2 separate regions of the Homo sapiens genome follow, and region 1 is linked to region 2. The links are contacts of gene promoters, found by promoter capture Hi-C in blood cells and fetal thymus (Javierre and others, 2016). All regions are on one chromosome and are shown on one strand. The core of a region is centred on a gene start or on the middle of the fragment in contact, and the rest is flanking DNA. Distances in the headings are between cores, read along the strand shown.

What was found. Contacts are between HindIII fragments. The CHiCAGO score rates a contact against its expected background, and 5 or more counts as called.
Region 1: a contact is called between a fragment that was not itself captured here and the fragment with the promoter of KRTAP1-5 in region 2, in 5 of 17 cell types (total CD4 T cells, non-activated CD4 T cells, total CD8 T cells and 2 more). The highest score is 9.2, in total CD4 T cells.

Annotation. Positions count from the first base shown.
Region 1 is chr17:41,537,874-41,541,795 of GRCh38, forward strand. No RefSeq gene overlaps it. Among named protein-coding and RNA genes, the nearest start is that of KRT19, 12 kb to the left of the region's middle. RefSeq lists an enhancer at 1,300-1,920. The HindIII fragment of the contact is 5,266 bases long and covers 1-3,922 here.
Region 2 is chr17:41,025,894-41,030,118 of GRCh38, forward strand. It overlaps KRTAP1-5 (keratin associated protein 1-5), which reads right to left and starts at 1,315. Exons shown (of 1, transcript NM_031957.2): 1 at 133-1,315. The coding sequence starts at 1,262. The coding sequence ends at 738. It overlaps KRTAP1-4 (keratin associated protein 1-4), which reads right to left. Exons shown (of 1, transcript NM_001257305.2): 1 at 3,458-4,225. The coding sequence starts at 4,185. The coding sequence ends at 3,820. RefSeq lists an enhancer at 3,392-3,941. The HindIII fragment of the contact is 9,785 bases long and covers 1-2,952 here.

The DNA of each region.
Region 1 (3,922 bases), core at 297-2,796, 510 kb after region 2:
CGAGGGCAGAGCCAGCAGGTCAGGCTGACGATTCATGGGGAGGACAAGGGAAGGAGAGAATCTTGCATGGCTCCTGGTTGAGGTGTGAGCCTCCTATTTGCACTGAGGTCAGGAAGCTGGTCTGGGACGGTGGTTTATCTAATCCACCTCCAGGAAAGGAATCACACCGGGGCCCTCCTAGATCTGTGTTGGAACGCGTCCTGGCAGAATTAGGTTCTACTAACCAAGCAATGACTGTACCCCGATCTCTGCCAGCGCTGATGCCTGCTGAGGGAGGGGAAGGACAAGGGCTGTGTCCACCTGGGCCCTGCCTTCACAGACGGAGCCCACAGTTAGGGGTTGGTATGAAAGAGGCGACTTTCTTTTTTTTTTTTTTTTTTTTCTTTTTTTTTTTTGAGACAGAGTCTTACTCCATCACCCAAGCTGGAATGCAGTGGCGCAATCTTGGCTCAGTGCAACTTCTGCCTCTTGGGTTCAAGTGATTCTCCTGCCTCAGCCTCCTGAATAGCTGGGATTACAGGTGCCTGCCATCACACCTGGCTAATTTTTATATTGTTAGTAGAGGCAGCGTTTCACCATGTTGGCCAGGCTGGTCTCAAACTCCTGACCTCAAGTGATCCACCCACCTCAGCCTTCCAAACTGCTGGGATTACTGGCGTGAGCCACTGCGCCCAGCCAAGAGACAGATGATTTCTAATGAAGATCTGTGTTTTCTACATTTTCAAAAAAGCAGCAGTGAGCATGTCTCACCTCTAGCATGGGTTGAGGGGAGTGCTTATTATTTTCAATTCTGACTCATTCCAGGCTCCACTGGCTTTAGGCTGGCAAGCGGGGCCTTGCAGACTTGGGGGAGGGGTGGTCAGGTTAGTGAGTTTCTGGACCAGGTGAGCAGGGGGTTGGGGCAGAAGGGGCATTCCTAACAGCAGCTGGAAGGAGCTTCAGAGCTGCTCTGGAGACAGGATGCTGAGGCCCTGCTCATCCCGGCTCCAACCGGCTGCAGGATAAACATTCATCAGGCAGAAACCACAGAGAATCACATAGCGAGATGGGCTGCCAGGAGCTGGGAATACCAGGAATGCCCAGGCCTGGGGACTAAGGGGGAGATGAGGGAGAACGGGGGAGATCCCCTTTGCCCCAAGGAAGAGCAGCTGACGCCTGATCCCATGAGAGGGGCCTGGTATCTGAAGCGCTTTTTGAAGTCAGTTGAAAAGGAACACTATCCCACCTCAAAGACACACACACAGAGTATTAACAGAAGACAAAGCCTCACCGGCTCCCTTAGGCATCTCACGTGCATTCCAGGCAGGAACTACCCAGTGCCAGCATCAGCCCTCAGCAGGCTGCCCAATTACCAGCCCAAGGCCTACCAGCCGTGCCAGCACCAGGGAGGCACGGGGGATGCACCAAGGAACCACAGTGCCAGGAAGCATCTTCTGCCCTCCCCTGGCTCAGTCCTGCCAAGACCCTTCCCCCTCCAGTGGAATGTGCTGGAGTTGGAGAGGAAAGTGCTTCCTCCAAAGTCCTTGCCTGGGATTAGGGCTGGAGCCTGTGGGGATGAGAAGATCCACCAGAGATATCTGTCCTCGCTGAGTAAACATACAATGAGGACCTGGTACACAGAAACCGAACAAACACATCCCAACAGGGATATCCATGTCTGGGGCTTCAGAAGAAAGGGCTGGAGCATGGGGAGAAGAGAGGAGGCTTCACGAACCCCAAGTTTCCCATTCCTGCCATGTCCATGTTACCTCATCCTTATCCTCACCTTGACTGCTAAGAAACATAGTAAGCATCTTCTTGGCCGTGCACAGTGGCTCACACCTGTAATCCCAGCACTTTGGGAGGCCAAGGCAGGTGGATCACCTGAGGTCGGGAGTTCAAGACCAGCCTGACCAACATGGCGAAACCCCATCTCTACTAAAACTACAAAAATTAGCTGGGCATGGTGGTGAGTGCCTGTAATCCCAGCTACTAGGGAGGCTGAGGCAGGAAGAATTGCTTGAGCCTGGGAAGCAGAGCTTGCAGTGAGCCGAGATAGAGCCACTGCACTCCAGCCTGGGCAACAGAGCAAGACTCTGTCTCAAAAAAAAAAAGAAAAAGAAAAAGAAACATAATAAGCATCTAAAAGCCCAGCAAGATGATTTAGACAAAACTCCTACACTTGTAGGATGGGGGCATAGAAATCTTCTAGCCCAGAGATCTTCAAGCCTCGCCTGCTAAGCCCTAAGCAGAGAGGTGGGAGCTGAGCGGATCTGCTGTGACCACCCACACTCACACACACTTACACACCTCACACAGTATTCACACCTACTCACACATGCACACACATGCATACACATGCTCACACATACACTCACACACTCCCAGGCCTTCTCACACATGCATTCACACTGGTTTTATATACTCAGCTTTCTGTGAGATTTTGCTTCAGCAAAGATTCTCCCTCTTTTAAAGCCCAAACACGTGCTTCAGCCTACCTCCAGCAGTTTATATAGGTCAGAAAACTGAGAGAGAGTGGGGCCTCAGCCTGCCTAAAGTCCCACAGCTGGTGTCCTGCTCAGCAGAAACCAGCAGGCAGGTGCCCTGGAGCCAGGATGTCTGTCCCCAGGGGACGACCTGAGCTCGGGGAAGAGAAAGAGGTAAACACTGTAGGCTCCTGACAAAGGCAGGAGGCAGGCCAGGGTCAGAGGAGGGACATAGACCCGGGGCTGCTGGAGCTCAGATGGAGGGCACCCTGAGTGAGGGATCAAGGCCTGGGTAAGCAGGGAGGGCGCCCTGGAGGAGGGGGCCCTTCACAGCCCCAGGGTGAGCCACAGTAAATGGTGCCTAGAGTAAGGACATGGAGGTGGCGGATAGTGGGAAGTTCCAGTAAAAAAGAAATCTTATAAAAACAGGCTAAATGTATTGGCCTCTTCCTCTATGCCTAACTCTGTTCGAGTATGTGGCATCCATGAACTTGTTTAAATCATCGAAGCTCCCCTATGCTGTGGACACTGTCATCACTCCCATTTTGCCAACTAGGAAACTGAGAGCTACTTGCTTAAGCTGAGTTTGGTAAGGCACCGGGCTGGGATTTGAACTCACAAGGTCTGGGCCTGCACCTTGCGGTCTAACCACTGTGTCAAAGGAAAACCAGGGAGCAGAGGCTGCAGAGCTGGTTCGAATCAGACAACAAAGGGCCTAGCAGGTCAAGCCACTAGATTTGATTTTTTATTTTTTTCCTGCAGAAGCCAACAGTGATTGTTTGAGCCAGGAGATGATACATGCAAAGTACCAGGTGAGTCAGACAGCAGGTTTCCTGAGGCTGGAAACACAGGGCTATCACCCAGCTGGGTCAACAGCCCTGTCCCAGCACCCCCTCACTCCTTCCCTCTGCTGCCCCACCATCATCGCCTTATCACCTCAAGACCAAAGGACCACAGCCGCCTCCCCCAGAGCTGACCTACCCCGGCAACTCACCCCAGCACCAGGCTCATCTGTCTCAAGCCAGCTTTGATCAAATCCCTGCTCACAAATTCTCACAGTCAGCCTGTTCTTTACAGCAGCAACTCGCCATGTGGTCCTTCCACCCCCAGGACAGAACCCATGGAGAGGCGAGCCAGGGTTACTGAATCGAGTCTTTGTGGATGAACCTGCACCTTTAATAAGTCTGAATTTTTAATAAGTTCTCCAGGTGATTCTGAGGCTCACTATAGTGTGAGAACCACTAGCCTAACGCATGAGATCCATGAGATATGGGAGAGGCACAAAGATGGAGGGCCCCCTGAGTGAGGGAGCGAGGCCCGGGTAAGCTGAAAGTGGGTAAGCTGAAAGCAAGATAAAGTGGCTGAAAGAAGCCTAGCCGTGGGCCGTTTACCTGCTAACAGAGGAAGTCCACGTTAGCATAACTAAAAAGTAACACACCTAGTTTTCTGCTTTCTGT
Region 2 (4,225 bases), core at 65-2,564:
GTAATCCACTCACCTCAGCCTCCCAAAATGCTAGGATTACAGGTGTGAACCACTGCTCTTGGCCTCAAGTAGACATTCTTGAATTATAAGCAGTTAAACCAGGTGATGTACAAGTGAAAACAAAGACAATGGTTTCTTTGCCTAGTATATAATATTTATTAAGAAATGACAGAAGACATTGTATCACAGATATAACTGAAATATCCAGCAGGCAAGATCATTATGATCCAAAAACCAAGGGATGGATCAGATGTTAAAATGTGGAAAGTCCAGCCTACTTCTTAGAAGCTGAATGTTGGGTGATGAGCTTCCATTCTCTCTGGTGACTTGAGGAATGTCACTTGGCTATAATTTGGTGTCTTTGATGTTGCAAAAAATTTTAGGTAAACAAGATAAAATAGATTATAAAGCATGGAAACATTAGACTTGTGGATAGTTCTCATGGATAAATTCCACAACATGTCAGTAATTTTTAATCCTGCAGAAATATCAGAAATAGTATATCCCAAGCAAATTGATGATCAGCAGGTGGCTTTGTAGCATTTCTGTGTCCCCAGTGAAGGGTCAAGGTATTCATTGTAGAATGGAATCAGATAGAATTGTGAGCTCATATACTTAGTAGTCTCCATCACAAGCAATGCAAAGTCTGAGAACTTGTTAGTGGTCCAGAGGTGGTCAAGGGATGAACAGTTCAGAGACACTGTGACCTAGGCAATTGAAAATAAGCAAACTGGCTTTCAGCAAGTGGGCTCACAGCAGCAGACTGGGCGGCAGCAGGACTGTCCACAGTAGGACGGGCGGCAGCAGGAGGCCTGGGCATGGTGCAGTTGGCAGCAGGATGGGGGCGTGCAGCTCACCACACAGCAGGGGGGTAGGTAGGTGCCCTCCACACGACTGTCTGGGCGGCACCACCTGATACGGGTGCTCACAGCTCCACTGCTGCCCTCCTGGCCATAGCTGATGCCACCACCAATGCCACAGCCAGTTCCGCAGGAGCTGATCTGGCAGCAGCTTGGCTGGCAGCAGCTGGTCTCACAGCAGCTTGGCTGGCAGCAGCTGGTCTCACAGCAGCTTGGCTGGCAGCAACTGGAGCTGCAGGTCCCACTGGTTGAGAAGCTGGGAAATCCGCAGAAGCTAGTCTGGCAGCTGCGTGGCTGGCAGCAGCTGGTCTCACAGCAGCTTGGCTGGCAGCAGCTGGAGCCACAGGTCCCACTGATGGAGAAGCTGGGATATCCACAGAAGCTGGTCTGGCAGCAGGTCATGGTGTCAGAAGTTGGGTTAAGAGTTAGGTTGCTTGGAGGAGTTTCTGAGGTTTGGTGGTGACTTCCACGTTGGTCCTTTTATATATCTGAACCAGCTGCTGTTTACAAAATTGTTAACATATTTTCTTTGTTTTTGTTTAAATTTGTTACTCCGTGGATCTCTGATTGGCTTATGTTGAAATACTTGTGACACATTATGAGCAATAGTTTAGAAATTACTGTTTTATAGTTTCTTCTGGACTCCTCATATCAGTCCTTTGCTCTTTGGAATATGTTTGTGGTTTCCCATGTTCAAAGAGTACTTCCATTTTAGTCCAAATGAATGCTCTCATTTTACATAATAGTTATTCCACGTGACAATCTATCCATACCTCTAAGGCTAAGAGTAATAATTGTGCTGTTATATTTAACTATTATTTTTTCCTCCTAGATATATAGACTAAATTTTATTGAATTTTGGATATCTGGATATCTACTGAACTGAAGGAATACCTTTGGTCATACATAATTCGCAGATTTCACCTTTTTTTGTTCCAATGTCTTATTGAATTACCGATTATAGTTCCTTTGATTTCAACCAATTTGGAATGTGTGACTATTATTCCTGTTCCAGACCAGAAATCTGTTCTTGGGAACCAAACTGACATAGTATTTAGGAAGGTATCCAGCAGAGTCCTTAGTTTGTGGTAGAACCTTAATAAATGTTTACTGAATCTGATTCAATAAATGTTTATTGAATAGGTGGAGTAAAAGGCTTGATTCATGGATATCAATACCACTCAAACATGATTAAAGAGAACTTTCAAGCTGTAGTACTTCTCATGAAAGAGTCTTGTTATTTGCTGTAAAGAGACTAGGAAATGTGTTTTTTGGTTTATTTTATTTTATTTTTTGGATTTAGTAGTGGAACCGGGCTCGGGAAAAAATATCTAGGAGTTATGACACTTTGAAAAATGTACTGCCATCTACTTTATTCCTCTTGGAAATTGCATAATTTTGTGTGTAATCCATCATTGCTACCAATTAAATATAGAGGTAAGTTCTGGGAGCTTGTAAATAATGTGGAAAACGTGTTTCTTTCTATATTTGCATCCTATTGTATTTTGTGTATTACACTCTAATGCCTAATGAAGAATTTAAAAATTAAATGGTAAAATATGTTTTGTTTTGTTCTAGGTTGTGTTAATTTTTTTTTTTGAGACAGAGTCTTGCTTGTTGCCCAGGCTGGAGTGCAGTGGCGTGATCTTGGCTCACTGCAAGCTCTGCCTCCCAGGTTCACGCCATACTCCTGCCTCAGCCTCCCAAGTAGCTGGGACTGCAGGCACCCACGACCACACCTGACTAATTTTTTTTTTGTATTTTTAGTAAAGACTGGGTTTCACCATATTAGTCAGGATGGTCTCAATCTCCTGACCTCGTGATCCACCCATCTCAGCCTCCCAAAGTGCTGGGATTACAGGCGTAAGCCACCGTGTCCAGCGTGTTAACTTCTTAAGAGAATATCTTTTAAGTTGGGTTGCAAAGTGCAAAATATAATCGAGCTGTTTCAGATTTCTAACACTTCTGTCTGACAAATGGCAATGGTAGAACTCAGCGGGTGCTCTCTATAGCTGTTTCTTCTACTATCATTTAGACCAAAGATACACCTTATGCATACGTACATCAAATGAAGGTGAATAGTGGGAGTTGAAGCTTAGAGAGCAATTCAAGGATCAGTGGGAAGAATGTGAAAGGCTAAGGTGTAGAAATTAAACCTAAATTCTCTTGGAAAATAGGTAGTATCTAGTAGCTATTTTTAAATCTATTTAGAAGGTAATGCAATTTCTTTAGATTTTGGGGCATAAATGAAGGAGAACATTTAGTATATTAAATGGAAGGAGACAAAAGATGGTAGAATTACATTTAGATAGAAATCAATAGCTTTGATCAACCTTAACATTTTAGCTAAAGGTCAACCTTTATTGGTCTAGACCTAATCATAATAGATTAGAGCATGTAAATATTTGAACTATAAAAATTCTTTAATTCATGGAGCATTTTTAAGCTGATGGATTCAAGCATAATTTACTTTGTATTTAATCTTTCTGGTTTAGACTTTATGGTTATGCCTTGGTATTATTATCAAATTGCAAATCCACTCTTGAATACCAGCTACAAGAAGACATGTTTAAAGGTAGAAGGAGGACATAACTCAGTTTGCTTTGCACATTAAAACATTTTATTTGGATTAATCAGAGATATTCAAGGAAAAACCAGGTCTGAAGATGCATGAGCATCAAGAGAGAGTTGGGGGAGCAGAGATGTCACTGAAATGATGAACTATTCCATCCTGGTCCTCTGCTCAAGCAACGCAAGCTATCCAGAACACTGATTGATACATCTTTCAGTAAGTGAATTCGGCACATCCACAGTGTCCTAACTAGGAGTTTCATTATCTCTGAGCAGCTTAACAACATCATGGTACTTAGCATCCAAGTAAAATCGAACAGTTCTTCAGAAATCAGCACAATTTTGCTGTGCTTCCCCTTTCATTCTTAAGCGATCAGCAACCTGGCTTTTAGCAGGTGGGCTCACAGCAGTGGCAGCAGCAGGCTGGGCGGCAGCAGGACTGTCCACAGTAGGACGGGCGGCAGCAGGAGGCCTCGGCGTGGTGCAGCTGGCAGCAGGATGGGGGTGTGCAGCTTACCAGGTAGCAGGGGGGCAGGCAGGTGCCCTCCACGTGGCAATCTGGGTGGCACCACCTGATACGGGTGCTCACAGATCCACCGCTGCCCTCCTGGCCATAGCCAATGCCACCACCAATGCCACAGCCGGTTCCGCAGGAGCTGGTCTGGCAGCAGCTTGGCTGGCAGCAGCTAGTTTCACAGCAGCTTGGCTGGCAGCAGCTGGAGCCACAGGTCCCACTGGTGGAACAGCTGGCCATGGTGTCAGGAGTTGGGTTGAGAGCTGTGTTAAGAGAGGTT